Linked DNA regions of Homo sapiens: all the other regions are linked to region 1. The links are contacts of gene promoters, found by promoter capture Hi-C in blood cells and fetal thymus (Javierre and others, 2016). All regions are on one chromosome and are shown on one strand. Each heading gives the region's core, a stretch centred on a gene start or on the middle of the fragment in contact. The rest is flanking DNA. Distances are from core to core; before and after follow the strand shown.

Region 1 (3,032 bases), core at 369-2,868:
GAGATAGAAATGCCCCTTTGGAGATTTTACCACTCCTCAACCAAAGCTCCCTCTTTTCTTCATTTAATTTTTTATTGGTCATTCACCCTCTACTACAGATGCTCCCCAATCCTTACAATGACTAGTAGAAGTCCTATTGTAAGAGAATCCCTAACATTAACAAATGTGTCTGCAAAAGAAACTGTACAATGAATACAAAGTCATTAAGTGGAATAAATAATCAATTTCTTTGTCTTTAATGGCTTTTTATATGAAAACTGCCGTAATGGCAATACTGAGGTAAATTTTACATGCATAAACATAGTGCCTTCTACTAAAAAAACCTATTATGATAAAACAATACTGAAGTGTCAGAGTTGGTAACTGTTTTAGGGCTCAAGTCTTGTCACGAAAAGTACTATTCATATATCAACACTAAAGAAAAAGTGAAGAAAATGGTTTGGAAAACTGAGTTCTCAGTCCGGCTAGACCCTGTTGTTCCAATTTGCTTGTGCCTTGGTTTTTCTGTTAAAAAAAAAAAAAAAAAGTGGATGTCTATTTACAAGTTTACAAGAAATGGAAGAGTGAAGCTCTGATAAACTTTAAAGCATTAAGAGCAATTATTGCTGACCTACTCGTGCCACAAGATTGTCTCTACTACCAAACAGTGAGCGCTAGTTAGAGCCTAATCTGACCCCGAAATAAAATTTTATAAATTTTCACTGAATTAAACACTGGCTGCACAGGAGAAAGACTGAATGCCAAGATGTGTCACGATCGCAGAAATGCACATGTTGTCTCTCAAAATAACTACTTCGAATGACAAAAACACTATTGGCTATAAATTCTGTCAATCTAGGAAACGTGCTATCTGCAAATTTGCCTGAAGCAGGTCCCAAGACCAAACAAAGAAACGAGAGAATGCAAAAACTCTCCCAAGCGGCGCTAAGCACCGATGGGGTAACCTCAGGGAAAATAAGCTTCCTTTCATTGCAGGTCCTGGTGTGATGACTCTCGAGCCTCCTGGGCCTCTCCAGGGCCAGAGCGGCCGAAATCCTGTTTCAGGAGACAGCGGCTTCCCCTCAGGCTCTGCCACGTCTCCAGGCCAGACAGGGCCGGGCTAAGGTCCGCCGGCGCTCCCGCCAGTCTCCCCTAAAGTCAGCGCCCTGGAAGGTGGGGCCAGAGCGCTCCTGCCTTGGTCCTTGGACAGGAGCAAAGTGTCGCGGGGCGAGACCCTCGAACCGCGCCCACCGTGCCATCCCCAGCGGAAACTGCTCACCTTGCGATGTGCACTCCTGCCTGCTGCACCCCGCACGCCGCCACAGCTGAGCCTGGACCACGGGACTAGGGGGCTCGCAAACGACATCGGCGTCCAGTGGCGCCGGCCGGCCCGCCCACCTTCCAGGGACACCGTCCCTCGGGGTCTGGCTCTGGCGCCTGCAAGCCATGCCATGCCATGCCACCCCCCTCATACACGCCCCTCGGAGCCACCTGGCGCTCACCTGGGGACCGGGAAAGTGCCTGCGTGGTCGCTGAAGAGTGTGGTATGATAGGGAGGTCGGGACGTAGAACTACAGCTTGGAGAAGACAACGAAGGCGCACCCTGGAAGTTACCTCGGCGTGTCCCCGCCTACAAGATGGCCACGGGCGGCGCATGCTCCTGCGGCTGCCACGTCGGCCGCGCGCCGCACCGCGCCGCGCGTCGCCGCCCCGCCCCGCTCCGCCCCGCATCGCATCGCCCCGCTCCGCCTCCGCATCGCCCCGCCCCCCCTGTCCCATGCGCTGTGAACCCGGCCGGGACGCTGCAAGTTAAACTTTGGAGCCAAGATCTTCCTAACTACCGAGACTTGGTTCTGCCCACACCCTCTAGAAACATCTTCCAAAGGGCTGGCCTCCTTTCTACTTCGCAGCCCCCTTACACGAGAGTGGCACTCTTGTTACCAGGCGTAGCTCACTCATCCTGTGCCACAGCGGCCCAAGGGATAAGATCAGTTAGCCAAGGTCATCTGGTTGGCGGTCATCTAGCCAACATCAGCTAGTCCAGTCAGCACCTCCAGGAAGGACCTCGCGGCAGATACAGGGGACTTAGCCTGTATAGTCAAAGATTTCCAGATAACAGTGATTATATCAGGAGAGAGGGATTAGGAGAAGAGGGAGAGGGGAGAAGAGTAGCAGTTACTGTACTGAATTTTTCCCCAAGTGCATGTATTGCACATTCTTTTTTTAATTGTAAAATAGACAGATTATCAACTTTCTTATTATATGCTGCACCTAACACAGTACCTGAAATAGTTGGTGTTCAATAATGTACATTAAATAAATTAATGGAGTGCGATAGAGGAAAATAAGGAACTTCAAATCAGAAGTCTTGATTTGAGTCTGAGACTACTCTAATGCCAGTTGTACAGTTGCCTGCCCTTGTACAGGTCACTTAGTCTCCATAAGTCTTCATATTTCTACCTGCAAACTGAGAATAATACTATCCACCATCCCTAAATCAGGCAGGTGACAGACTCAAATAAAATAGAGCATATGAAAATTTTTTAAACTTTTTGTCTTTTTGAGATGGTGTCTTGCCCTGTTGCCCAGGCTGGAGTGCAATGGCGCCATCTCGGCTCACTGCAACCTCTGCCTCCCGGGTTCAAACGATTCTCCTGCCTCAGCCTCCCGAGTAGCTGGGATTACAGGCACAGGCCACCACACCCAGCTAATTTTTGTACTTTTAGTAGAGACAGGGTTTCACCATTTTGGCCAGGCTGGTCTCGAACTCCTGACCTCGGCCCGCCTCGGCCTCCTAAAGTGCTGGGATTACAGGCGTGAGCCACCGCACCTGTCCGAAAACATTTTTTAAATTGCTTAGCATTAAATATATAAAAAATTGTTTTTGTTGTTCTCAATTTTTTTTCAGGAACTCACTTAGAGATTTCACATTAATCTATCTCTTGAGCTTCACAGTTGTAAGCATTCCAAAATACCTCACTGAAAAGTTAATACTATGTAGCAATACTCTGACTTCAGATCTCACTGTGCAACTACCATGGGCGGTTTTCTTT
Region 2 (3,032 bases), core at 348-2,847, 870 kb after region 1:
AGTGCTCTAAAAAAAAAGAAGCAAAACTAAACCTGACAACCAAGAATCCTATATCCACCAAAGCTTCTTTAAAAAATGATGGTGAAATAAAGATTTCCCAGATTAACAAAAACTAAGACAATTCTTTGCTAGTAGACATGCCTTAAAAAAAGTAAAGGACGTTCTTCAGACTAAAAGAAATGAATCTCAGAAGGTAATCTGAATCTACACAAAGAGCAGTAGTGACTTATTTGGCTCTGGCTGCTGTAACAAAATACAGTAGACTGTGTGGCTTAAACAACATTCATTCATGTCTCACAGTTGTGGAATCTGGGAAGTCCAAGGCCAAGGTGCCAGAAGATTGAGTTCCTGGTGAGAGCCTTCTTCCTGGCTTGCAGATGGCCACTTTCTTGCTGTGTTATCACATGGTGGAGAGAGTGAGTGAGCTCTGGTCATTTTCTCTTCTTTTTTTTTTTTTTTTTTTTTTGAGAAAGACTCTCGCTCTGTTGGCCAGTCTGGAGTGCAGTGGCACAATCTCAGCTAACTGCAACCTCTGCTTCCCAGGCTCAAGCGATTCTCCTGCCTCAGGCTCCTGAGTAGCTGGGATTACAAGCATGTGCCACCATGCCCAGCTAATTTTTGTATTTTTAGTAGAGACGGGGTTTCACCATGTTGGCCAGGCTGATCTCGAACTCCTGACCTCAGGTGATCCGCCCACCTCGGCCTCCCAAAGTGCTGGGATTACAGTGTGAGCCACTGTGCCCCAGCCCTCTTTCTCTTCTTATAAGGACACTAATCCCATCATGGGGGCTCCACCCTCATGACTCCATCTAAACCTACTCACTTCCCAATACAATCACATTGGGAGTTTAGGTTTCAATCTTTTAATCTGAGGGGACAAAAACATTTGGTCCCTAACAACCAGTAAGTGTAATTATGTAATTATTCAAGATAGTATAAATGCATATTTCTTCTGCTTTATTTTTTTAACTGATTTAAACAGCAATGGTATAAAATAATATGTATACACTGTATTTTGGGACCTATAACATAAACAAATATATTTGCCTGGATGGGCGCTGTGGCTTACGCATGTAACCCCAGCACTTTGGGAGGCTGAGGCAGGTGGATCACCTGAGGTCAGGAGTTCATGACTAGCCTAGGCCAACATGGGGAAACCCTGTCTCTACTAAAAATACAAAAATTAGCAGGGTGTGATGGCACATGCCTGTAATCCAAGCTACTCAGGAGGCTGAGGCATGAGAATCGCTTGAACCTGGGAAGCAGAGGTTGCAGTGAGCCAAGATCACACCACTGCACTCCAGCCTGGGGGACAGAGTGAGACTGTGTCTCAAAAAAAAACATTAACAATTTAAAAAAACAAGAAATATATTTGCTAATAACAGCCCAAAGGAGATGGGTGGTAGCATAGCTGTATTGGACTAAGGAAATGACTCCAGATGGTAACTCAAATCCACAGGAACAAATGAAGAGAGCCAGAAATGATAAGTGAGAAGGTTGATATAACAAAAGCTATGAATATATACTTGCTATCTTTCCTTCTTTCAGCTTCTTTAAAAGACATAAAATTATATAATGATTATAACAATGTACAGTTGTATTTGTAACATTTAAAAATGTAATATGTGTAACAGTAATAACACAAAAATGGGGGGCAAGAAATAGAGCTATATCGGAGTAACAGGTCTATATCTCACTGAAATTAAATTAGTTGAAATCTGAAGTTGATAAATTAAGTTGCATATGGTAAGCCTGAGAGCAACCACTAAAGAAATAATTCAAAAAATGTATTAAATAACTATTAAATAAATTAAAGTGCTACTTTGAAAATATTCACTTAGGCCGGGCGCAGTCGCTCACACCTGTAATCCCAGCACTTTGGAAGGCCAAGGCAGGTGGGTCACCTGAGGTCAGGAGTTCGAGATCAGCCTGGGCAACATGGTGAAACCCCGACTCTACTAAAAATACAAAATTAGACGGGCGTGGTGGCACATGCTTGTAATCCCAGCTGCTAGGGAGGCTGCGGCAGGAGAATCGCTTGAACCTGGAGGCGGAGGATGCAGTGAGCAGAGATCGCGCCTTTGCACTCCAGCCTGGACAACAAGAGTAAATCTCCATCTCACCAAAAAAAAAAAAAAAAAAAATTCACTTAATTCAAAAGAAAGCAGTAAATGTAAATTGAGGAACAAAAAGGACATGAGGCATATGGAAAACACAGTAAAATGGCAAATATAAATCCAACTATATTCATATTAATTCAGCGTTATTTATTTTTAATATTATCAATAATAATAAAAACTCGGGCCGGGCGCGGTGGCTCATGCCTGTAATCCCAGAACCTTGGGAGGCCAAGGTGGGCGGATCACGAGGTCAGGAGATCAAGACCATCCTGGCTAACACAGTGAAACTCCGTCTCCACTAAAAAAATACAAAAAATTAGCCGGGCCTGGTGGCGGGCGCCTGTAGTCCCAGCTACTCAGGAGGCTGAGGCAGGAGAATGGCGTGAACCCAGGAGGCAGAGATTGCAGTGAGCCGAGATCGCGCCACTGCACTCCAGCCTGGGAGACAGAGTGAGACTCTGTCTCAAAAAAAAAAATAATAATAATAATAACAAAAACTCACTCAAGGAAAAAAAAAAGACAATCTGAATAGACTTACTACAAGTAAAAAATTGAATAAGTAACCCAAAACCTAACTGCAAAGAAAAGCCCAGGCTACGGATTGCTTCACTGGTCAATTCTACCAAACATTTAAAGAAGAATTTATACCAATTCTTTTCAAACCCTTTCAAAAAATAGGAAGGATATTTCCCAATTCATTCTATGAAGCCAGTATTAACGTGATAGCAAAGCTGAACAATGATATCACAAGAAAAGTACAGAGCAATATCCCTTTTGAATATGGATGTAAAAGTCCTCAGCAAAATACTATCAAATCATATCCCGCAGCATATAAAAAGAATCACAAGCATACCTCATTTTCTTGTGTTTTGCAGACACTGTTTTTTACAAATCGAAGATCTGTGGCAGCCC
Region 3 (3,032 bases), core at 324-2,823, 830 kb after region 1:
GAGTGCAGTGGCATGATCTTGGCTCACTGTAACCTCCACCTCCCAGGTTCAAGCAATTCTCTGCCTCAGCCTCCCAAGTAGCTGGGACCACAGGTGTATTCCATTACGCCTGTAATTTTTAAATTTTTTGTAGAGATGGGGTCTCCCTCTGTTGCCCAGGCTGGTCTCAAACTCCTGGGCTCAAGTGATCCTCCTGCCTTAGCCTCCCAAAAGAGTTGGGATCACAGGCATAAGCCAGGTCACCTGGCCTGCAGTGGGTTTTTGGTGGGTTTTTGGTGGGTTTTTGTTTGTTTGTTTCTTTTTTTGCCCCAGGATTAAATAAGTTTCACTATTTCCTTTGTCTCTTAAATCTTTTTAAATCTCACTTGTGGCTGGGCATGGTGGCTCATGCCTAATCCCAGCACTTTGGGAGGCCGAGGCAGGTGGATCAGAAGGTCAGGAGTTCAAGACCAGCTTGGCCAACATGGTGAAACCCTGTCTCAACTAAAAGTAAAAAAATTAGCCTGGCATGGTGGCATGTGCCTGTAATCCCAGCTACTTGGGAGCCTGAGGCAGAGAATCATTGGAACTGGGGAGGCAGAGGTTGCAGTGAGCTGAGATCGTGCTACTGCACTCCAGCCTGGGTGACAGAGCAAGACTCCATCTCAAAAAAAAAAAAAAAAAAAAATCTCATTTGTTTGTTGAAGAATCTAGGCAACATGTGAATTATTAAACTTTATAAATAAGGAAGTAAAAGAGCACAAAGAAAAAGATACCAAACTCCTTTTAAAACATAATAAGGCCGGGCACAGTGGCTCACACCTGCAATCCCAGCACTTTGGGAGGCCAAGGGAGGAGGATCACTTGAGGTCGGGAGTTCAAGACAAGCCTGGCCAACATGGTGAAACCCTGTCTCTACTAAAAATGCAAAAATTAGCTGGGCATGGTGGCGCATGCCTGTAGTCCCAGCTACTTGGGAGGCTGAGGCATGAGAATCGCTTGAACTCAGGAGGCGAAGGTTGCAGTGAGCCAAGATTGCGCCTCTGTACTCCAGTCTGGGCAACAGAGTAAAACTGTGTCTCAAAAAAACAAAACAAAACAAAACAAAAAAACAGAAAATACCATAATGGATTCAAGTTAGATAGTTAGATGTAGCTAAGAATCTCTAGCTAAAATTAGACTGGGAGATAAAATATGGCATTTAAAGTAGAGTGGTAAACTGCTTTCTCAAGGCAAGTCACTTTGGTTATTTCTCTTTCCTCTTCTGTCACCTGAGGGAGAATGGGGGCCTCAAAGGAATAGAAAGACCCTCTTGGATGAGACAGGGCTAGGAGGTCGAACCAATGTCAGAGTAATCTGTTTAAAGAAAAGAAGGCTACCGGCCCCCAAAGACAATTTCAAAGGAGGGCTTTCAGTGCCAGCCTTCTATAATTTCAGAGTAGAGTACTGGCTCCTTGCCCACCATACGCAAGCTATTCTATTTTCTTTTTCTTTTTTTATTGAGATAGAGTTTTGCTCTTGTCCCCCAGGCTGGAGTGTAATGGGGCGATCTTGGCTCACTGCAACCTCTGCCTCCTGGTTTCAAGTGATTCTCCTGCCTCAGCCTCCCGTGTAGCTGGGATTGCAGGTACGTGCTGCCATGCCTCGTTAATTTTTGTATTTTTAGCAGAGACAGGGTTTCACCATGTTAGCCAGGCTGGTCTCGAACTCCTGACCTCAAGTGATCCACCCACCTCGGCCCTCCAAAATGCTAGGATTGCAGGTGTAAACCACCACGCCCAGCCTCTATTTTATTTTTCAACAAACTTGAAGTTGCTCTGCCCGGATCTTCTTCAGGGCTCTGAAATCCCTAACCCTGCTGTGGGGAATGTCAATGGGTGAACCGCATGGAGCTACCTTTCCCAGGGCCTTCCCAGAGGGCAGCCCTAGGCCAGTGATGGGCTGCAGGGGTTGGGGGCACAAACTCCTGTTTTTCTTACCTCAATTTGTTATGATGCTGAAGGACCATCCCAACTCCAGAGCTCATCACAGAACTGTAGAGCAGGCTGAGTTCTCAGCTGCAACTGCACTGTGGGTTTCTAAGGCCTCTGGTCTCAGGCAGGCCTAGGAAGGGAGCCCAGCTGGACAGGCAGCAGCAACCATGGCTCCCAGTGCCCAAGGACCAAGGGCAACAGGTGGACAGCCTTGACCAAGACGTGTCCTGAAAGATGGTCAGGCCAGGGTACTCCAAGGGTACATAGCTCTTCCCTCAATCCACCCCCCAGTAAATAAGCACAAAACCTGGCCACTGCAGTCTTAGCCCCCAGGGATTCCCTGACAGACCATAGAGAACTCCCAGAGCCCTGGGGACAGCTGTACTTGCCCCACATTAAAAAAAGAAAAAGTGCTGCTTTCCTCACTTCCTGCAGGTGTTATCTCCAGAGAACACTCCCCAACAAATCTTCTGCACTCATTTCTATCTCAGAGTTTGATTCCCACAAACTCAAGCTAAAATACTTGGTTTAAAAAAAAAAAAGTCTCCTTCCACTCTTATTCTCCAGCCACCCAGTTTCTTTCCAGAATCAATGATATTTATCAATTTGCCATATATACTTGCAGAGATATTCCATGCAGTTACAAACATACATGCATGGATTCTGTCTCTCTCATTGTTTTTACACAAATGGTAGTTACTATACAAATCATTCTACGCTTTGCCTTTTTCTTTTAATCATGTATCTTGCAAATCTGCCTTATTATTTTTAATGGATGTTTATAATAGATGTTCCACGGGTTATTTGGCCATTACTCTATTATTATTGTGTATTAAGTTGCTTCCAATCTTTTGCTATTACATACCATACTACTTACATACTATAATCTTGTGTATGTGTCTTTTCAGAAGTATGTGATCACATCTCTAACATACACAGCTAGAAGTAGAATTGCTTGGTCAAAGAATATGTGTCTTAATTTATTTCATTTTACTTTATTATTTTATTTTGTTTTTTCTTCTTCGAGACAGGATCTCACTCTGTTGCTCAGGTTGGAGTGCAGTGGCATGATCTCGGCTC
Region 4 (3,032 bases), core at 367-2,866, 750 kb after region 1:
TGAACCCGGGAAGCGGAGGTTGTCGTGAGCCGAGATCGCGCCACTGCACTCCAGCCTGGCGACAGAGCGAGACTCCGTCTCAAAAAAAAAAAAAAAAAATTGTCAGTTTTCTTTTAAAATTATTTCCTGTCCATTTTTTAAGTTTTAAGATTATATGTGATTCCAGCAATGATCTCTATTGCTCTCAACCCCATGAAGCTTTGTTTTTTGTTTTTGTTTTTGTTTTTTTTTTGAGACAGAGTTTCGTTCTTCTTGCCCAAGCTGGAGTGCAGTGGCGCGATGTCAGCTCACCACAACCTCCATCTCCTACCTCCTGGAGGGTTCAAGCGATTCTCCTACCTCAGCCTCCCGAGTAGCTGGGATTACAGGCCTGCGCCACCACACCGGGCTAATTTTGTATTTTTAGTAGAGACGAGGTTTCATCATGTTGGTCGGGCTGGTCTCCAACTCCTGACCTCGTGATCCACCAGCCTCAGCCTCCCAAAATGCTGGGATCGTAGGCGTGAGCCACCACGCCCGGCCTGAAGCTTTCTATTGATAGAGTTCCTCAATTTTCAGATTATTTGAAGAGGCTCACATTATACATATCCTATTATATAAAACAACTTTCTTGGAGTCAGACAATTGAGGATGTGCTACTGATAGCTGTATAACTTTAAGAAAATTATTCCGTGATTTCCTTCAAGGAAAATGGAAATGGAGCCGGGCACAGTGGCTCACGCCTGTAATCTCAGCACTTTGGGAGGCTGAGGCGGGCGGATGACGAGGTGAAGAGATCGAGACCATCCTGGCCAACACGGCGAAACCCCGTCTCTACTAAACATACAAAAAAGTTAACTGGGCATGGTGGTGCGCGCCTGTAGTCCCAGCTACTCAGGAGGCTGAGGCAGGAGAATCTCTTGAACCCAGGAGACAGAGGTTGCAGTGAGCCGAGATCGCGTCACTGCACTCCAGCCTGGCGACACAGCGAGACTCCGTCTCAAAAACAAAACAAAACAAAAAAACACATGCCGGGCTCGGTGGCTCATGCCTGTAATCCCAGCACTTTGGGAGGCTAAGGCAGGTGGATCACCTGAGGTCGGGAGTTCGAGACCAGCCTGACCAACATGGAGAAACCCCGTCTCTACTAAAAATACAAAATTAGCTGGGCGTGGTGGCGCATGCCTGTAATCCCAGCTACTTGGGAGGCTGAGGCAGGAGAATCGCTTGAACCTGGGAGGCAGAGGTTATGGTGAGCTGAGATGGCACCATTGCACTCTAGCCTGGGCAACAAGAGCAAAACTGCGTCTCAAAAAAAGAGAAGAAAGAAAAAGAAAATGGGGGCCGGACGCGGTGGCTCACGCCTGTAATCCCAGCACCTTGGGAGGCCGAGGTGGGCAGATCACCTGAGGTCGGGAGTTCGAGACCAGTCTGACCAATATGGAGAAACCCCATCTCTACTAAAAATATAAAATTAGCCGGGCGTGGTGGCACATGCCTGTAATCCCAGCTACTCAGGAGGCTGAGGCAGAAGAATCGCTTAAACCTGGGAGGTGGAGGTTGCAGTGAGCCAAGATCGTGCCATTGCACTCCAGGCTGGGCAACAAGAGCGAAACTCGTCTCATAAAAAAAAAAAAAAAAAAAGAAAGAAAGAAAGAAAAGAAAATGGGAATGGTTTTTACCTTGCACAGGATTTGTAAAGATTTAATAAAACAATATATGCAGTGTGTTAGACATACAACATGTGAAGGCTAAATAGTAACGCTTACTAATAGTAATCATGTGTTTCCATTGAAAATCAAGGAAAAAGAATGGAAAATCTTGAAGCCTTAGAATTAGGTAATTGTGGCCGGGCATAGTGGCTCACCCTTGTAATCCCAGCACTTTGGGAGGACAAGGTGGGTGGATCACTTGAGGCCAGGAGTTTGAGACCAACCTGGCCAACACAGTGAAACTCCATCTCTACTAAAAATACAAAAAATTAGCCAGGCATGGTGGTGGGCACCTGTAATCGCAGCTACTCGGGAGGCTGAGGCAGGAGAATCGTTTGATCCTGGGAGGCAGAGGTTGCAGTGGGCCGAGATAGTGCCATTGTATTCCAGCCTGGGCAACAAGAGTGAAACTCCGTAGCAAAAAAAAAAACAAAAACAAAACACACACACACAAGAATTAGACAATTGTGCACATTTTTGGTCAGCTACTTTACAAAATATACACTTTCCTTATTCTCTAGGTGTTTCCCATACCTAATGCTAAACCTGGATTATGGCCTTCTGTTCTCTCATACTAAGTTAGTCAAGCTCCCTTTATTCAAGTAATTCCTGAAATCTTATCCCTCCAAAGTTTTCCCCAATGAATTAGAAGTAACAAATTTGTAAATTTGGTGACAACACTTCTGCATTTACTAGGATAGTGGTGATTTCAAATATCCTGCCTTTGTTTTTACTATACACCTCCATTTACTTGTCAGGGCACATGTCCTGATTATTGGTTAGACCATATATATCCCCACCAAGTCTCAAAATGCCATGCCATCATTTTCCCTTGTCCATACTCCTCCTACAACTACCTCACTACATGTAAAGAACTTAATTGACATTTGTCCTACTTTATGTATGTCATTTGGATCTGGGACAGAAAAATATATGATACATAAGACATCTGGGGAGAAGGGGCCATACTAGGATGGGGTGAGAAGGAATGGGGAGGAGAGACTGAAAGCTTAGCAGTAACCCACTTTTGTCTTGGGAGAGGGGAGTGACAGCTGGCAGATAAATTGAGTATACATTGCAAACAAATAGGATAGCTAGGACTGCGACACAAAATGAAATAAAAAATTGCTAAATGGTATCTCTTCAATATATGTTTGCTGAATGGATGAATGAAGAAATAACTGAATACATGATCTTCTCCTGGAACAGATTGTTCGACTAAATATATTTTACAAACTTGATACTTTTTCCAGTTATTATAAAAGTGTAGACATCATGTTTTAGAAGGTTGAGTGACTATCCAGAATGTCTTCCAAGTCTGATTTTGATTTTCATGTTAAA
Region 5 (3,032 bases), core at 145-2,644, 720 kb after region 1:
TAGGATACATGTCATAAGACATATGACTGAAAATAAAACCATATTTTAAATGCAGTATTACACAATACTTACAAAAGCTACTGACTCAAAATTAATTACTTAACAATTACAAACAGTAATTTTTAAAGCTCAGGTCATAATGTGGTACTTCTCAATGTGATCCTGCCTCATGGCAGGAGAATGACCTGTGCCTTCCAGGGACCAAAATGGTCCAGCAAGAATGATACTGCATAAAACAGCATGTCAACTTTACAAGTTATTGTATGGAACAACCTGTAAAATCGGCATATTTTATGCAGTATTGTTCTTGTTTATTTGACTTCACAGATTTAATAAGTAATACATGCAAATAGCTCAAAACTCAAGATGTCATACTACCAAGTGAAAGATACTGTGTTCAACATCTTGTGGAGTGTAGAAAACACAAGAAGCCAAAAATTAACCCAAGGCAGTACATCCAGATGACTAGAATATGGTGATTTCTTCCATAAAAATAAAAACCAAAGAAGATAAGGAGGACAGGGGATGAAGAGAGTATTTACTTGTGGTACCCTGAGGGCCACCCAATGATACCAGTGGAAATTTTATAGGAGCTTTAATTTCAATCATGACTAATGCTTCTACTGTTCATTTTATGTCAAGTTCTTAGTCACATAAAACACTGTTCTATGAAAATATAAATTGTTCTGTTATAAATTACTTCTTGGCCAAGTGCGGTGGCTCACGTCTATAATCCCAGCACTTTGGAAGGGAGACTAGCCTGGGCAACACGGTGAGACCCCATCTCTACTAAAAATAAAAAAAATTAGCCAGGCGTGGTGGCACATGCCTGTAGTCCCAGCTACTAGAGGGGCTGAGGCGGGAGAATCACTTGATCCCAGGAGGTCGAGGCTGCAGTGAGCCCTGATCGTGCCACTGCACTCCAGCCTTGGTGAGAGAGTGAGACCCTACCACCAAAAAAAAAAAAAAAAAATTATATATATATATATATATATATATATATAGTCTGGCTGCAATGGCTCACACTTGTAATCCCAGCACTTTGGGAGGCCGAGGCAAGCGGATCACCTGAGGTTGGGAGGTCAAGACCAGCCTGACCAACATGGAGAAACCCAGTCTCTACTAAAAATACAAAATTAGCCAGGCGTGATGGCACATGCTTGTAATCCCAGCTACTCAGGAGGCTGAGGCGGGAGAATCGCTTGAACCCGGGAGGCAGAGGTTGCGGTGAGCCAAGATTGTGCCATTGCACTCCAGCCTGGGCAACAAGAGTGAAACTCCGTCTCAAAAAAAAAAAAAAAAAAAAAAAAAGAAGATACAGTGTAGGGTCCAGTGTCCCATCAAGCCCCATCCCAACAGTCCTAGTTTTCTGCAAAACAGTTTGAAAACTTCTGACCACCAAGAAATATGCAAGCTCCTTGGCATGGCAGTCCCCCTAGAAAGCCCTTCAGGTCTAAGTCCTAAAGACCTTCTGAGCCTCGGACTTCACTCTCCCCCACTCCATGCCATCTATTCCCATTCCTAACTCCATCTAATTCCTAACCAACTGCCATTGGAAACTAAGACCAAGGATGGAACAAATGTCATCCTTCCTCTGTAATGCTTCCCTGCTTTACCTCTCCTAGCAGAAAAAAATCATGTACCTTTCTGGGCTCCACAGCACTTGGTGCATCATTCTCATATGGTGCATGGTATATACATCTTTTTAAAATTTAAGATTCCATGTCTGTCTCCTACACTGGAATGTGGGTAAAATGAGATTACCTTCAGATCCTCAGTGCCTGGCAATGTCTGGTATAGGGTGGGGATACTCAATAAAATTTCTGTTAAAAAATGAAAGAAGCAAGCCACAGGAAAGCAGTGCTTACAATTTTACTTTAATATAACAACTCATGAAAAGATAAGTACTCAGCCTCTGTTACAGAGGACCCAGGTTATTCTGAGACCCAAATAGTCAATCTAGATCTGCCCTGCAGTGCCTGTACAAGCCACCACAGCCTTCACAAGCAGGTGGGCAGCAGGCATTGTACCAGGCACTGAAGAGAACTCAAGAGTCAGCTACCGCCCTTGGTGCAAAGTAATTTATAGTCTCTTCTCATAAGAGGTTATGAACACACTTTTGCTTTTTCTAACCCACACAAATGTACAGTGGCATTTATATGCACTCTTATGCACAGGTACACAGGAGAGTTTCGAGACGGTGCGGAAAGGCTCAGTCCAGGTCCCTAGTTTTGAGACATATTTACCTAATCCAGCAGACATTACTGAGTATCTACTATGTACTACCAGGAAGAGAAAGATAAATAAATAAGACAGGGTCCCAACTAAGTGCGTTTTTAGTATTCCCTTCCTTCTTCTGGACCCTCAGTACCTTTACTGCTCAGGGTCAGGCACTAGGCCATGTCACCACACTTAGGTGTGTAGCTGTCTAGGTAGCATAAAGACTTATCTTGCAGATGCTGAAGTAAAATGATGAAAAGGGACTTGTGGGGCTACCTGCACTGGGAGCTCAGGGCAGACAGTTCTTACAGCTGTCCTTACCTTGTGAGCCCTTTAACTCCACAAACAAATTGTTCTGTGTTCATATATTTTTCCTCTTCCTCCTTAGGCCACAATATTAACAGTGAAAAAGTCAATGCATCGCGGCCGGGCGCGGTGGCTCACGCCTGTAATCCCAGCAGTTTGGGAGGCAGGCGGATCACGAGGTCAGGAGATCGAGACCATCCTGGCTAACACGGTGAAACCCCGTCTCTACTAAAAATACAAAAAATTAGCCGGGCGAGGTGGCGGGCGCCTGTAGTCCCAGCTACTCGGGAGGCTGAGGCAGGAGAATGGCGTGAACCCCAGGGGGCGGAGCCTGCAGTGAGCCGAGATTGCGCCACTGCACTCCAGCCTGGGCGACAGCGAGACTCCGTCTCAAAAAAAAAAAAAAAAAGTCAATGCATCATGAAGTGGCTAATAAAGAGAGAAGAACTGACTACTATCTCTTCCTCTTGCATATACAGCACTTACAGTGCATTGATCATACAAAT
Region 6 (3,032 bases), core at 304-2,803, 690 kb after region 1:
TGTCAGAACAAGGTTATGACCAATGGCTTCCTTGCAAGCCAACTTACAGCTCTCCTGGTAGGCAAAGGATGAAAAAGCAGTATTACAACTAAAAGGAAAATGAGAAGAACAAACCATGCTGAACTCACAACAAAAGCTCCATTAACATGCTTATGGCAATAGCAACAAAGGAGGGACTCAAATTCTAAACAGAGGCTCAGTGATGCGTGGTACAGCACCTGGATAAGGTGATTCGCTAGGGAAAGACAAGGAGGAAGCCATGTTTTACTAGCTTCAAAGCACACTTTAGCCGCTTTATTAGGAAGTAGTATTTCTAAGACTAGTATTGGTAGGGGTATATGCAGTGTCTTTATGTGGCAATGGGGAAGGTAAGGTACTTTGACAAGGATTCTAAGACTGACACACTGAAAACACACACTCCAAGAAGATGTACACTCCACAATCTTCAAACTCACAGTTTCATGAACATTCTGAGAGCTAGTAACAAGGTTAATAATTTAAGCATTTACTAGATAAAGGTACTATGCCAGATACTATTCCAAGCATTTCCCAAGTACTGTCTCATTCTTATTATTAGCTCATGGATATTGTGTCATTAATATCCATTTTTAAATGACAAATCTAAGAGAGGTGAAGTAACTTGCCCAAAGTCACAAAGCTAATGTGCAGTGAAAACAGAAACAGGACACAGAAAATCTGTTCTGGAGCCTGTGCTAATAATCAGTACTCTATAATACACTCCTATTTATTCCTAAAACTTAAAGACAGCTTCAGTTCAATTAACTTAGCAGCTTTGGTCTGTTTATGCAATCGGTTATTGCACGTTTCAATCTGATCTTGATTATACTTGCACAGTGAACTTTAAGTGAAATTAACATTGTGGTGGTCCTGATAAACTGGCCATACCTCTCCCTGAGAATTTTTCAATATAACCTTCACATCTTCGCCAGTGCCCCACGAGTTCTGGTTCTTCCAGATGAGGTCAGTTGGGGGGCTGGCTGTGACACCAGCGTTTGCAGCCCAAATCTGTAAAAAACCAAAGCATGTCAGTACACCCAGAACCCAGTTCTCCCACACGCCAACGACAGCAATGCGATGAGACTCAAACACTTGATTCTAAAAGTCTGAGAACTATGCCCCAGCTACAGAGTGCTATACACAGCTATGTGGCCAGGAGAACTCACAGAGCTTCTCAAGGCCTCAGCTTCCCCATCTGATAAGTGAAGATGATAATATATAAGACCCTGAAGTAAAACTGCCTACACTCACATCCTAGTTCCTTTACACACCAGCTGACCCTGAGCAAGTTACCTTACTTTAGTCATCCATAAAACAGGGTAGAAATGGCACCTGTAACAGGTGCGATTATTGAAAAGAGCAAGTGATAACCCACATTCAGTGGCTGGCTAACTCAGTGAATGGTAGCCTCAGCGTTCTATTACTCTGTGGGTTTTATAGGCCATCCTTCCATGTTAGAGCCTTCTGTGACTCCCTCTAATAATGTTCTCTGGCTGCCTACAGCAAGAACTAAAGAGACCTTCTGCAGCAGAGAGCCTATCTAGAATAATCTTATGGAAACTGGTACGTCTCCAAACAGACAATGTCACAATACCCTAGAGTATCTGAGACTGCGCTCCAAAAAGAATGCTGGAAATGTATAAATCACTCGCTGTTCAAGGGAAAATATAATTGCTATTGAAATAGGTCAAAGAAATAATTATATTTCCCTTCTCATGAGCATGAAATTCTTTTTATATATCTACTGGCAAAAGAGAATGGATAGAGTGAAGAACACCTGGCAGTCAGAAAGCCTAGGTTTGAATTCTGGACAAATCACTACACCTCTAGGAAACTCAATGCCTTTAGCTACAGGGATACTACTAGCCCTGATCTCTTAGAAAGATCATTTAAAAACAAATAGAAACAGAAAAGTTTGTAATCCATACATTGTTATAGAATATAAAAGACTTTATGACTGCAAAAGGAAAGCTGAAGATGGCAAAGCCAAGTATTATTTCAAAATGGGGGCCAGGTGTAGTGGCTCCAGCCTGTAATCACAGCACTTTGGGAGGCCGAGGCGGGCAGATCACTTGAGCTAAGGAGTTTAAAACCAGCCTGGGCAAAATGGTGAAATCCTGTCTCTATCAAAAAAAAGAAAGGGTGGGGGGGTGGGGTGGAAACAGGAAAAAAAAAATCTATGAATTACTGATTAGGAGAGAGCCCTTACTTTTGAGATGTTCCCCTGAAGCATCCAGATCTTTCATCAGCATTACAAATGGAAAAGGGCACAAGATATTAACTGGGATTAAACTGAAAAAAAGAACTGAATCTGGTCCAACATTCAGACTATGTGGAATGTTAGTGTTTCCCTAATTGTAAGCAATATTTCTCACTAGCCTATATGTAATCACATAGTTGATTTATGTTAGTAATCATCATCATAAAATGTCAGTATCCTTGCTGGCTAACTTAACCTAAAACTAATATGTCCTATAGCCATGTCATTCAATACCGCAGCAAAATGTGGCTTGTTAGCACTTAAAATATGGCTAGTCTGAAATGAATGTGCTGTAAGGGTAAAATACACACTAGATTTTGAAGACTTAGCTAAACATAAAAAAAAAAGAATGTAAAAATATCTGACTTTTTAGACTGATTACATGTTAAAGCAATATTTTGGATATATTGGGTTTCATAAAATATAGTTCTAAAATTCATGTCTTTCTTTTTTACTTTAATGCGGCTATAAGAAAATTTAAAATTACACATGTGGTTCTCATATTTCTATTCTAGAGTTTTAAACTGATCTTTGCTTTTGCCTCTGCAATTTTACAGAAAGATCACTTATTACTACCATGTTCCAAAGAGCTGCTTATCACATTTAATGCCAGTAACTGAAGGGAAAAAAGTATCACATTATTTTATATGATAATTGAGTTATCCACTAGATCTCTAGAATCCATGTATTTAGTCCCTGAGGTAGTATACCCAGTAGAAAAAGCACATGATTGGCATAAGGCTTCCATATTACT
Region 7 (3,032 bases), core at 361-2,860, 670 kb after region 1:
TCTATCCCAAATCCCATCAGAGCAGGGAGAACCAAGTCTCAGGGAACCTCAGGGGAACTCTGAATTCCATGCAATTGGCTGAGCGACATTCTCGGCACACATAGCCTGCCGTTTCCATGAAAGCACTCTGGACTGACCTGGACCCTTGAGTTCGGGTGCCTGTGAGTACCCAGGACCACTCAGGAACACCAGGGAAACAGACTGAGGCTGCAGGACTGTGGCCCCTCTTTCTCCACTGTTCTGTCTGCAATCAAGTTCTGGCTGGAGTCTAGACGGATTCTTCCAAGGTTAGAGCAAAATGCCCTATCAGGATCACCAGCTGTATCCCTTAGCTAATGCTCTGAGAGATCATGGCCAGTTTTTAATAAGCTCAAATCGTCTTAACGAGAAGTCAAAGAATTTGAACCTCCCCCTTAACGTCCCCAACCTTGGAGCTGTTGTCATGACTGCGGAGGCGAGAACTTCACCTTTGAAACTCAGCCTCCTACCAGACAATTCTTTCCTAATGACCATTTCCCATAAAAGACCAGTGCTCCTGAAGCGTGCCGTGTGGTGCCTGCCTTTTATAACAGCAGTTGACCACAGTTGTTGTTCTACACATCGGTGTGAATATTTGATTGATGCCCCCCACCCCCACCCCAACCAGGGTCAGGCAGAAATTTCTTTTCGCTCACCATTGTATTGCCAGTGCACAGCATGCAACTTAGTAAGTGATTAATCAATGTTTGTTGTGGGCCAGGCACAGTGGCTCATGCCTGTAGTCCCAGCACTTTGGGAGGCCAAGGTGGGCAGATCACTTGAAGTCAGGAGTTAGAGACCAGCCTGGCCAATATGGTGAAACCCCATCTCTACTAGAAATACAAAAATTAGCTGGGAATGGTGGCGCACACCTGTAATCCCAGCTACTTGGGAGGCTGAGACAGGAGAATTGCTTGAACTTGGAAGGCAGAGGCTGTATTGCACTCTAGCCTGGGCAACAGTGAGACTCCGTCTCTCAAAAAAAAAAAAAAAGTTTGTTTAATTAATATTAATATTTATTAATAAAATGAGTAAAATGTGGTGTTTCCAGTGTTCTCAATGGCCTTCCTTGTTTAACCACTCAGTTGACTTAACCCAGGAGAAATGTTAATTCTGACTGGCACTATTTTTGCTAATAGACTTACTTAAGCCAACAATAATTAACAGCCCTGCCATTTTATAACAGGACAGCCTCACCTTACTTCCCATCTTAATTCCCGTGATCAAAAAATTTTAAGTTAATTAGTTTTAAATTCCTATTTCTTTACAACCTACTATATTGGTATGACCATCTTACATGGCCTCATTTATTCCACTATCAACTCTTTGTAACAGGATCTTTAGTTCCAATTTACAGATAAGGAAACTGAGATGCAGGAATGTTAGCTTTTTTAGACTTACATCACTAAGTGACAGCAACTTAGTGTCATTAACTACTTCTCTTATCAAGGGTTTTCCATTCACAGACCTAGTTCAAAGGCAAAAACAATGTGCTGTTTATTCTTTCTACGTGAAGTCTATCTATGGAGAAGACCCATCTATGTGGGAAAGTATAAATTTGGGACATAACCCATGACTATAATTGAATTCTCTATCATTAAAAAATCATTTATTTTATTTCCTTTCCAATCAAAGCTGAATCACCAGTTCCAATAATTCCTGTTATTCACAGCATCCCCACCCTACCCCCATCAGGATAACTTGGATGTACTTGCATACCCTCTGGGTCATTTTCAACACTTCCTAGATACAGTAACACATTGCATCACTGGGGTCCAAACTGCTTTCACCTACTTGCTGGGTGGTGTGTTAGCTTACCTAAAGGTGACTATCCCCCCAAAGGAGAGTTTTAAATCAGAACACTTAACTACCTCCCTGATGTCAGGGAAAGTGCATCCTGAAACAGCCAGTTTAGGAAAGGTCATTCTACCAGGGCTGTGGCTTTCTGCCTTATCTGAGAGCTTACGATGCGATAGTGGGAGGAAGGCAGATTGAGCAAGAGCTGGAGCTGTTCCTGCTCCTAAGTCCATCTTCATACGCTGAGAGGTGCAAATCAGCTAATATACAAGAAAGCATTTTCTAAACCTCACCATGAAAACAATGTTTATTACATTTGCCATTAATTTGAAGAACATTAGAAACAACAGAGATTTTAAATAGGGATTTGGGGATTATCCGACAGTTGGAATTGTTCCCATTCATTTCAACAATTAATAGCACCGTTTTCATTAGTAAACTGGCTATGTTATTTTTTTTTTTGACAGCTCCCTGGGATAGCAGAATAGGCATAGTCATCAAGGATAATAGAACTGTGATCACACTGAGTTCCTCAAGAAAAGAACTGGCTGTCTCATCTTGGTATTCTTGATGCCTTGCTCAGTAGCGCCTGGCAAAACTAAATCTCCCAGTGAATGGTTGGTGAAGGAATGAACAAGTGAATAAATGACAACCTGTGGGCCTGTTATCCCATCTACAAAACAAGGACAATACTAATAATGCAGTATTGTGAGCTGTAAGGTAATGTTTGATGTGACAACTCAAGCATGAGTGAACATTCAATAAATGTTTGCCCCCTTTCCTTTCACCCTGCTTCCTCTTGATGGGTCTTATGCTGCTTTTCTGCCTTCCTATGTGAGAGTGAAAGTGTCCCGTGTGTCAGAGACCAACACGTGCTGGTGTGTACTCCCCACATGTCAGAGCAGCACTGCGTTTCCAGACCCTGCCCCTGTCGGTTTCTCCCAGTGGGGTCCCCAGTGTTCCCCAGCTGTAAGGTCCGGTAAGGGCCCAGCTTCAGGTCCCCTCTGGGATTTCTGGTATAAGGTCTGCCTGAGTGACCCAAAGCATTCACCTCTAGCACCCACGCCCTTCTTTCTCCAGGGAAGGACCCCTCCCAGAAGGATTGTAATAATACGCATTACTTTTCCTGGTAATGAAATGCAACATGTCTCGGGATAGAACCCAGGCTCACTATTTCTTTTATGACATAATATGAATGTTTGCAGATCTTGATTTTT

Evidence for each region. The method cuts DNA at HindIII sites, captures the fragments that hold promoters and counts their contacts. A CHiCAGO score of 5 or more calls a contact.
Region 2: a contact is called between a fragment that was not itself captured here and the fragment with the promoter of PRRC1 in region 1, in 3 of 17 cell types (total B cells, endothelial precursors and M2 macrophages). The highest score is 6.7, in total B cells.
Region 3: a fragment that was not itself captured here is called in contact with the fragment with the promoter of PRRC1 in region 1 in 1 of 17 cell types (naive CD4 T cells); the score reaches 5.6 in naive CD4 T cells.
Region 4: a fragment that was not itself captured here is called in contact with the fragment with the promoter of PRRC1 in region 1 in 1 of 17 cell types (non-activated CD4 T cells); the score reaches 5.6 in non-activated CD4 T cells.
Region 5: a fragment that was not itself captured here is called in contact with the fragment with the promoter of PRRC1 in region 1 in 1 of 17 cell types (fetal thymus); the score reaches 5.6 in fetal thymus.
Region 6: a fragment that was not itself captured here is called in contact with the fragment with the promoter of PRRC1 in region 1 in 2 of 17 cell types (naive CD8 T cells and M2 macrophages); the score reaches 7.1 in naive CD8 T cells.
Region 7: a contact is called between a fragment that was not itself captured here and the fragment with the promoter of PRRC1 in region 1, in 2 of 17 cell types (total B cells and naive CD8 T cells). The highest score is 6.1, in total B cells.

The regions. Positions count from the first base shown.
Region 1 is chr5:127,516,226-127,519,257 of GRCh38, reverse strand. It overlaps PRRC1 (proline rich coiled-coil 1), which reads right to left and starts at 1,618. Exons shown (of 9, transcript NM_130809.5): 1 at 1,482-1,618. RefSeq lists an enhancer at 1,441-1,620 and a silencer at 1,681-1,750. The HindIII fragment of the contact is 4,735 bases long and covers 962-3,032 here.
Region 2 is chr5:126,642,259-126,645,290 of GRCh38, reverse strand. No RefSeq gene overlaps it. Among named protein-coding and RNA genes, the nearest start is that of SPMIP10, 12 kb to the right of the region's middle. The HindIII fragment of the contact is 3,063 bases long and covers 66-3,032 here.
Region 3 is chr5:126,685,977-126,689,008 of GRCh38, reverse strand. No RefSeq gene overlaps it. Among named protein-coding and RNA genes, the nearest start is that of SPMIP10, 56 kb to the right of the region's middle. The HindIII fragment of the contact is 4,504 bases long and covers 1-3,032 here.
Region 4 is chr5:126,771,209-126,774,240 of GRCh38, reverse strand. The region is part of intron 1 of LMNB1-DT (LMNB1 divergent transcript); the gene reads left to right. Among named protein-coding and RNA genes, the nearest start is that of LMNB1-DT, 3.8 kb to the left of the region's middle. The HindIII fragment of the contact is 2,173 bases long and covers 530-2,702 here.
Region 5 is chr5:126,798,924-126,801,955 of GRCh38, reverse strand. All of the region lies in intron 1 of LMNB1 (lamin B1), which reads right to left. Among named protein-coding and RNA genes, the nearest start is that of LMNB1, 23 kb to the right of the region's middle. The HindIII fragment of the contact is 6,808 bases long and covers 1-3,032 here.
Region 6 is chr5:126,823,982-126,827,013 of GRCh38, reverse strand. LMNB1 (lamin B1) reads right to left here. Exons shown (of 11, transcript NM_005573.4): 9 at 907-1,026. Among named protein-coding and RNA genes, the nearest start is that of LMNB1, 48 kb to the right of the region's middle. The HindIII fragment of the contact is 6,087 bases long and covers 1-3,032 here.
Region 7 is chr5:126,848,225-126,851,256 of GRCh38, reverse strand. No RefSeq gene overlaps it. Among named protein-coding and RNA genes, the nearest start is that of LMNB1, 73 kb to the right of the region's middle. The HindIII fragment of the contact is 7,004 bases long and covers 1-3,032 here.